3 separate regions of the Homo sapiens genome follow, and all the other regions are linked to region 3. Evidence: promoter capture Hi-C in 16 types of primary human blood cells and fetal thymus (Javierre and others, 2016). All regions are on one chromosome and are shown on one strand. Each heading gives the region's core, a stretch centred on a gene start or on the middle of the fragment in contact. The rest is flanking DNA. Distances are from core to core; before and after follow the strand shown.

Region 1 (3,060 bases), core at 100-2,599, 800 kb after region 3:
AGGGATGCAGCGATCTCCACCCTGCGGGCGCGCGTCAGGTACTTGTTGAAGTGGAACTCCTTCTCCAGTTCCGTGAGCTGCTTGGTAGTGAAGTTGGTGCGCACCGCGTTGGGTTGACCCAGGTAGCCGTACTCTCCAACTTTCCCTGGGGCAAAGTGGGAAGCCATGAGACGGAAATGTAAAAATTTTTAAATCGACTTGAGATTCCCCACACGCTTCATGGCAACACTCAGGTAAAGAAAAGATCAAGAACTCAGCACAAATCGGGCTGTGGAGGGTGAGTGATGAGGTGTAAAGTGTTAACCTGATGTAAACCATTAGCATGGTCAGACCGGTGATTAATGGAGCCTCAAGATATTAACAGAACACTACCGTCACAATAACCACCCCCACATACTTCCTATTTCCCAAATGTATAAAATCCTTGAAAACACACCAATCCCTGAGACTTCTTTGCCCCAACACCTCTGGGCACCCTCTCCATGCACTACAACACTAGTCTGATACAAAAGCCTTTTAAAAAAAAGATCATTATTAATTTCCTTGGAAATTAAGCATACCAGCTCCTTCCAGAATAATCAAGGAGCATCCACCAACCAGCAGGACTGACCTGTTTTGGGAGGGTTTCTTTTGACTTTCATCCAGTCAAAAGTCTGCGCTGGAGAAGATGTCTCCGATGCGGGGGAGCGACAGGCTTCTTGGTGGCTGGCGTGGAGAGGGGACAAGGAGTTATTATACGTAGCCAGGGCCAGGCTCTGGTGCTCCTGTCCATATGAGTGGTGAATGTATTGAGGCGAGCCCACCGCGCCCCCAGCATAACCCTGGTGGTGGTGGTGATGCTGGACCATGGGAGATGAGAGATTTCCAGAGTAAACAGCGGGAGCGCACTGGGGGTACCCACCACTTACGTCTGCTTCCTGATTTAACGCGTAGGGGCTGTAAGGCGCACTGAAGTTCTGTGAGCCATAGCTTGGACCACAACTTGAGTGGGAGTAGGACACCCCCAGGTTCCCGGAAGTCTGGTAGGTAGCCGGCTGGGGGTGGCGATGGTGGTGGTGGTGGTGGTGGTGGGGCGAACCGATCTGCACCCCCCTGCCCACTAGGAAGCGGTCGTCGCCGCCGCAACTGTTGGCGCTGACCGCGCACGACTGGAAAGTTGTAATCCTATGGTCCGAGGGGTAGGCTCGGGCTGAGCAGGTCCCCGAGTCGCCACTGCTAAGTATGGGGTATTCCAGGAAGGAGTTCATTCTTGCATTGTCCATCTGTCACTGAGTGACCTGGTCCTGCGAAGCCCGGCGTGACTGTGCCAACTTTCTCACTTCCTCCATGGGGCCGGAGAAGAAAAATGATATGAATGTACAGTGCGCAAGAGGGGGGGCGGGAGGGCGGAGGACGCTGGAGGAGGGGCACGTGACGGTGTCAGCCAATGGCTGAGCCTCCTGCAAAAGTTTGCCGGCTTCCGCAGTGATGGATCACCGTTTTAGTGGCATTTAAATCCCCGGCGCTCCGCCGTCTAGGTGACGCGCAGTCGCCCCCCCAGGCAGCCTAGGCGGCGGCAGCTGCTGCGGCGACTGCAAAGGCCGATTTGGAGTGCTGGAGCGAAGAAGAGCAAAAGCTGCGTTCTGCGCGCGCCCGACTCCGCTGCCCGCCCCGCCAGGCCTCCGGGAGGTGGGGGCTGGGAGGCGTCCCCCGCTCCCGCCCCCTCCCCACCGTTCAATGAAAGATGAACTGGCGAGAGGTGAGAAGGGAAGAGGGCTCCCGGCTCTCTCGGGGCGGGAATCAGTGGGCCAGAGCTCGCCGGGTGGCCGCAAGTACGCCGGCCCAGCCCGCAGCGCGCCCAGCCGGAAGGCGGGGAATCCGGCTGACACCGCGCCCCGGGTTCCCAGGCCACCTCCTCTGTTCTGAGGCTGGGCTGGGAGACCGTGGGGCTGTGAGGAGCGCATAGAACCGTGGTGGAGGGCGAGGCTGGGCCACCGGCTCTTCAAGCTCGGAATGGAGGGGGAAGAGCGCAGAGGGCTGGCTGGGAGGAACTCGGGTGGGCGTGAAGGAGACGAGGGCAAGAAAAGAAACTTCCCTTCTTCCAGGAGGGTCTTCGAAACCCTCTCCCCACAGCCCCTCTCGTCATTAGCATGGCAATGAGGAGTTTCTGTAATTCGACTTGGAGGGGCGGATGAGCCCTGGAAACTCAGAGCTCGCCGGAAAAGGCCGGGGGCGGCCGGGCTCTTCTTCCCCACCTTCCCTCTCTCGTCGCTCTCCGCCCCTTTCTCTTTCCCACTCAGTTTTGCACCGGGAGCCCTCCGGGATGCGGAGCTACTCGACCGCCGGATTTTTAGGGGTAGGAGGCGGGGGAGAGAGATGACGCTGGCGGACGTGGCCAGCGCGGGGGCCGGGCGGTGCGCTGCAGGCCATCTGCCGGCGCCCTGAGACCCAGGAGCCTCCGCGCTCCCGCGTGGGCCTCACAGGGCCGGTCCACAGCTCCAACATAGTAGCTGAACTCCCTTCGTTGCGTTCCTCTTTTTCTGGAGGGGAATGTTAGAAGAGAGAGAGAGCTTCCTTTTATAACCTTCCTCATTCTGCTGCACGTCTAGAGTGGGTGTGGGGGCTGGCAGGTGGGAGGGGCGGTGGACAAATGGCTGATGGTGGACGGGACACTTTACCCCAACGACACCTCCTCCCCTTTCCAACTGGCTGTGTAGTTGCTTATGAGAACCTTCAAGTCCTTCCCTAGAGAGACACATGCAAATCTGAGCCTCATCCCAGGCCAGGGGTCCTGTTCCTCATCACCCTACTTCCCTGAGGCTGCTGAGGTCGTTAAATTGTTGTTTACTATTAGGTTTCACGTCAACCCTGGGCTTGTAGAGAGAAAAAGCCAAACGGAGACCAAGAATTGATGCAGTCTTGGGTAGGAGAAATCGAGAGCTTGTCCAGGAAGCTTTGCTGTATAAATTATAAGCAATGCTGTATAAATTTTACTCCAACCATGTGTACAATGTTGGAATCAGATGAAATTTATAGTGAATGAATGTATGTGGGTTTGGGGTTTCCACTCCTCTTCAGCCT
Region 2 (3,046 bases), core at 373-2,872, 870 kb after region 3:
TTGTCTCGATTCAAGCCAGCCGAGTCCCGGGGTCCTGGCTCTGTCTTGGGTTCTGGCTCGCCGGGCCCTGACCCAGGTCGCAGGTTTCGGGGGCCTCCTGGGCGGCCGCGGACCCCGCGGTCACGGTGTGAGCCCTCGGCACGCACCGTGCACACCCTCTGGGCGGTCATCAAGTTCTGGGGCTGCAGGCGTTCCTCCTGTGTCCGCCAGTCAGCCGGGGCTCTCTGGCGCCTGGCTGTGTCAGGCCTGTCCCAGCTGAGGACGGTGACCCTGGAGCCGCGCCCGCGCCTGGAGCTGCAGCCCCGCGGCCGCCCGGACAGCTGCAGCCCGGCAGCACTGGGCCCCCGGGATGGGGTCAGGGAGGCGCGAGCGGTGAGGGTCGGGCAAGCCCCCGCCGATTCCTTGTTTCCCAGCGAGGCTTCTAGCCAGGCTTGAGCAGCCCAGAAAATATAGGGCGGCTGTTCACTAAAATCTGGGGCTCCCATTCCAGAAAGGCTCGTGTCAAGTCGACATCTTAGGAACTTCACAAGGGTCGCGGAGGCGGGAGATGGCGGCGCGGAAGCCTCTTGCATGGAGCCACACTGCCATCTGCTGGCCGCCGTTTGGTACTGCAGCCTCAGCTACCTCCGCCGGCCTGAGCTTTGGGAGCCGCCGGCTAGCCCACCGCACCCCACTCCCAAACGAGGGGCGTGGGCCTAGGTCCCGGGGAGTCTGCGTGGAGCCCGGAATCTACTGCAGAGGAGGCAATGCCAATAAAAGAGGTGTTTCCGCAGCCGCTTTATCGGCGGCAGACAGAACAAATGAACAAATGAAAGGGCTTTGGTGGAATATCCTAATTGGGGCTGGACAGTTGTAAACTCATTAAGGGACGAATTCCAGACAGTTCGCAGACCCGGCCTTTATGGCACACTCTTACTGCCTATTCTTTGAAGTTCCTTCTGTCTGCAACAACAGAGGGCGTCCCAACCTGGCGGCGGGGTGGGGGTGGGGGTTAGGGGACGCCTCATCCACCCGCGCCCTGGTTCCCCTTTTAAGCTTAGAACACATCCAACTTTGCAGAAGTCGTGGAGTGGGGGAAGGGGGTCGGGCGAGGGAAGCAAGGGGGTGGAAGCGAGGCCGAACCCTCCGGCCACATCTGGAAAGCGCTCAGGCCTCCGAAGTTGTGGCCGTTCCCCCCCCCCCGCCCCTCGTAGCCCTTTACACCCCATAAACGGTAACAGCCCTCATTTTCTTTTATGGCGCTTAGGGGCTCGTCAATTGCCTCAGCCCTGCCTCTGTTAGGCCTTGTGCTCGAGAGGTGCTTGCAGTGCAGGACCCAGATTCTCTTGGGCCAGGCTGGCAGGACTCCGCGGGGGTGGCGGGCGGTGCGAGGATGCAGGGCTTTGTTCCTTTGCAAGCCCCCAAAATGTTTGCCTGCATGGCCACGTTGGGCCGGTGGGGCTCCTATTTCCCTCTTCAGAGCCTGCTTAGAAGGCGGCTCCCAGCTCTCTATCCTGTCACCCTCTCCCCCTTTTCCTCACCAAGCTAACGAAGGCCCAGGTTTGGGAATTTTCTCGGGGGCACCAAGGTGAGAGTGGTCTTTCCACTGCTACTGGCCAGACCAGACCAGCTCCTCAGGGGCTTCTCCGCCGTCCCGCACATAGACACAAGGCCGGGAGCCTGGCTCCTCCGCCGGGTTTCCCAGCTTTTTCTCGCCGCCAGGCAGCTGGCCTGTTTGGGAGAGCTTAGCTCGGCGGACTGGTTGTGGCAGGTCCCGCTCCTGAAAGCCAGCCAGAGGCAAAATTGGGGCTCTTTCTCACCACCCCAACCCGCCCCTACCCAGAGACTCTACATAGGCTCCCCTGACCCAGAGAAGAAGGTGCAAAGAGCAGACCCGCAAAAAATAGAAAAGAATCAATATATTTTATTTGGCAAAAAGTTAAATATCATCTCAACACAACAATTTGGTCAGTAGGCCTTGAGGTAACTATTGCAAAATATACAGTGTAAGTTCAGTCTGATGGAAACCCCAGATTCATCAAGGATACAAATCTACAGTAGCCCAATGGCGGTTTCATAGTGTATAATTTATTATCAATAAAATTAACTCCGTTACAATCAGCATTCATTTCCTCCAATTAAAATTAAGCATAAACCCTAGGTAGTAACCTTCTGCACATATGTATAGCTCCGAATTTCCTCACTGTTCGTCTGGTGCAAAAACAATATTCAAGCTTGTCTGATTATGCATATTTTCTTTAATCATATAGATTATATATACAATAGACAAGACAGGACTATATAGATAATGGACAGACTTAAATGCCCGCATTTTTAAGGTGGAGAAAATGATGAATCTATGCATCCCCGAGAACACTTAAAATTTTTTTTTATTTCACTGGGAAATTCTTACAGCTACTTTACAATCATAGGTTAACAGCCTAGTTATACAGAAGACATATTCCACTACAGAGCTATACTCTATGCAACTGTTTTTTTCCCCTCATAAACAACCTGAGTTCAAATTGAATTCTATCTTCCACAATCACAATGGGTGCATCACCCAGTACACAGAAGTTTGAATCACAAAACATAATTACCACAATAAAACACAGTGTTCAAGTATCTTGGCAGAGCAATCTGCCGCACAAACTGCAAATTAAATTAACTACACAGACTAAAAACTATACAGCCTACCATCAACAGTTGTGCATTATAAAAAGGTAGTTTCTTTCCTTTTGTTTTAAGTCAGGAACAGGTAGATTTTTAAAAATATATATACAAGCTAACACACACAGCTATCAGCACTAATGCCCCCCCCTCAACTTTTCCTTTTTCTTATAGAAAATGGAAAGCTTACAATACCTCCTCCATCAAAGCGGCAGGCCTACGAGCCAGCCTGAACAGGGTTTGCCTTGGAAAAGATGTGGCCTGAGGTTTAGAGCCGCTTTGTGCGGGGATGGTGGAGGCTAGGGTGGGGGTGAGAGAAGGGAGAAGGCGGAAGGGGGACGGACAGTTCTTTCTTTTTCTCTCTAGCTTACCCTTTTTTCTAAATAAGCCCAAATGG
Region 3 (2,700 bases), core at 100-2,599:
TGAGCCACCGCGCCCGGCCCAAGTTACCAGTCTTAATAGGGTCAAAATTCTAACAGATATTCAAATGACTTTCAGTAGACTCTCCAAGGGTTTGTTGCTGCTTTGTCTACAGCTGTAAAGTCATGCTCTTGACAATAAGTTCAGAAAGATTTTAATTTTACAGAATCTCTTAGGATCTTAGATACATGCTGCATTTTGTTTTCTACTCAATGTTTTTCTTTGCGGAGCATAGGGACAAGAATATAAAAAATACACTTTAATTTGATTTTCTTTCTTTTTTTTTTGAGACAGAATCTTGCTCTGTCGCCCAGGCTGGAGTGCAATGGCATGATCTCGGCTCACTGCAACCTCTGCCTCCCGGGTTCAAGCTATTCTCCTGCCTCAGCCTCCCGAGTAGCTGGGATTACAGGCGCGCGCCACCACGCCCAGCTAAGTTTTTGTATTTTTAGTAGAGACGGCATTTCACCATGTCAGCCAGGATGGTCTCCATCTCCTGACCTTGTAATCCACCCGCCTCGGCCTCCCAGAGTGCTGGGATTACAAGCGTGAGCCACCACACCAGCTTAATTTGATTTTCAAAAGTGATCATGGTTGCATTCACTTGTGTGTCATGACTTGGGTGCAATTTTAGGAAATTAAATACCAGTGATTGAGGGTTCAGCAATACAACTTCAAGATCCAAGATGTTAAGACACAACATTGTATATTTATACGTTTTGTTAGGGAGTTAATGTAGGTGTGGTGAACAGATGCGTTTTCAGGTGGGCCTGGAATGGTCCCTGGAGGATGATCAGCGACAAGCTGTATCTAATGGGAAAATTCATGCTTGAAAAATGAAATATTAGGCTATGCTTATTATTCTGTGTCATTCAGTCACTTATTAGCAGTTTAAGTGATGATTGTGGTTTCCCATGCAAACAGGTGTGGGGACCCAGCCTCAGGTGCCATTTGGGAAATGCTTTCCTCAGTCAGGTCCCTTGGCAGATCTCATTAGCTTTCCCCCCAAATGTTTTATTGAGACATTTCAAACATAGACAAAAACTGAAATAATTTTATATAAACACCATAGCCCACCACCTAGATGCTATGAACATTCTGCCATTCTTGTTTATCACGTTATTTATCCGTCCTCCTCCCCATCGGCAATCCTCCCCATAACTGTGGGGTCAGGGTTAGGAAGCTTAAGGTGACTCAGGTGGCGAATTCCGAAGGGTGCCGCTGGAGCACCTCCAGCCTCAACGTCCGGACTAATGGGGGCATTTCCTCCCTAACTCAATTTCAGGAAGCAGGAGGCTAGCTCTGCAGGGTGGGGGCGCACCTGGGCTGGGCTGCGCGGAGGCGGCGGAAGCACTAGGCGCGGCGCCCACAGGCGGACGGCTGGCGCTGAGCGCGGGCGCGGGGCCGCTACGTGCGCGGGGAGCGCGGGGAGCGCGGGGAGCGCGGGGCTGCGCTCGTGTGCGCTCCTGGGCGCTCGCCGCCGCCGCTGCCGCCGCGCGCCTTTGAGTCAGCAAACTCCGCGGCCCGCAAGCCCGGCTCGGCCCGGCCCTGCTCTGTTCTGCCCGGAGGAGCCGCCCGTAAGTGACAAGAGACCCGCTGAGGGGGCCTCCCCTGCACCGCCCAGGTGGGGACGGCGGCCCTTCTTTCCAGAGGCGCGGGCCCTTCCCGCTGTTCCCAGGTGCCCGCACCCTTGCGGGCTGGAAAGAGGTTTGGGTCCCTTGGGCTTGGAGCAGAGGAGCCGCCTCCTTTTCAGCCGAGGTGTGCCGGGCAGGGAGAAATGATCAGCGCGGTAGAGCGGGGAGATGGAGCGCGTCGATCCAGGGATTCTTGGCTAAAAAGACACCCCGGGGAGAGGGTGGGGCAGAGGTGGATTCTAGATTACGGAAGAAGTGCTGTGGCACCTTACACCAGGCCGGGTAGAAGGGGGTGGGGAGGTGGTTTTTAAAATTTATTTATTTATTTTTTTATTCATTCATTAACGGGTAGCCTTGAGTTGAGGAATTGGGAGGGGTAGGCAGGTTTATTCGTGGGATTGTGGGATTGAGGGAGAAGGCCCAGGGGAAAATCCATATAATTGACTGATTATCAGATTTGGTGACCAGGAAAGCAACAGCCTGTTTTTCAGTTCCGATGCATCATACTTTTCTCAAATTACACGGATTATTGAGGGGGATCGTCACGGAATGGGGAGCAACATGTCCTGCTGAAAGGAAGGGCTTCTATCTCTACAAGACACGTTAAAAATGATGGTATCAGAAAATTAGAACGGGGAGGAGGCTTGCACATGATCTCCATCAAACCTTTCATTTTACAGACAGGGAGGCTAAGGCCGAGGGACGCTGAGTGTTGGGACCAGGATCATTCAGCCAGATGGGAGCAGAACCAGGCCTACAACCTGGCAGGCTTCTGACTTCCACCCCGGAGTTATGTCCACCTCTGGGGCCTGGGAACTGGGTTTGGATTGCATAAGCTCCCCCTCCTCTCCCAGGAGGGGGCTGGGCTGGAGGCTGAGGCCTTCGCCAGGAAGAAGCAGGGACTGCTTGGATAGTTGACCAGCTTCTGCAGGGGCTCCTCAGTGAGAGAATGGAGGTGAGGTCAGGGACTCCTGCCTTGCCTCTGCCATCACTTCCAGTGATGCCTATTCCTAAGGTAGGTACATAGCTGGACCTTCATTATTCTTAATATTATTTACTTTTTTCTTTT

The links. Contacts are between HindIII fragments. The CHiCAGO score rates a contact against its expected background, and 5 or more counts as called.
Region 1: a contact is called between the fragment with the promoter of HOXA1 here and the fragment with the promoter of SNX10 in region 3, in 8 of 17 cell types (neutrophils, M2 macrophages, M0 macrophages and 5 more). The highest score is 19.8, in neutrophils.
Region 2: a fragment that was not itself captured here is called in contact with the fragment with the promoter of SNX10 in region 3 in 2 of 17 cell types (activated CD4 T cells and total B cells); the score reaches 5.8 in activated CD4 T cells.

The regions. Positions count from the first base shown.
Region 1 is chr7:27,094,651-27,097,710 of GRCh38, forward strand. HOXA1 (homeobox A1) reads right to left here and starts at 1,350. Exons shown (of 2, transcript NM_005522.5): 1 at 611-1,350; 2 at 1-145. The coding sequence starts at 1,262. HOTAIRM1 (HOXA transcript antisense RNA, myeloid-specific 1) reads left to right here and starts at 1,444. Exons shown (of 2, transcript NR_038367.1): 1 at 1,444-1,738. RefSeq lists enhancers at 1-438, 1,320-1,614, 1,740-2,312 and a silencer at 1,667-1,836. The HindIII fragment of the contact is 6,567 bases long and covers 1-2,930 here.
Region 2 is chr7:27,160,555-27,163,600 of GRCh38, forward strand. It overlaps HOXA10-HOXA9 (HOXA10-HOXA9 readthrough), which reads right to left. Exons shown (of 3, transcript NM_001433944.1): 3 at 1,884-3,046. HOXA9 (homeobox A9) reads right to left here. Exons shown (of 2, transcript NM_152739.4): 2 at 1,884-3,046. Among named protein-coding and RNA genes, the nearest start is that of HOXA9, 3.5 kb to the right of the region's middle. RefSeq lists enhancers at 1-633, 1,508-2,007. The HindIII fragment of the contact is 1,178 bases long and covers 1,034-2,211 here.
Region 3 is chr7:26,290,513-26,293,212 of GRCh38, forward strand. SNX10 (sorting nexin 10) reads left to right here and starts at 1,350. Exons shown (of 7, transcript NM_013322.3): 1 at 1,350-1,574. RefSeq lists silencers at 1,374-1,613, 1,764-1,843. The HindIII fragment of the contact is 4,940 bases long and covers 1,179-2,700 here.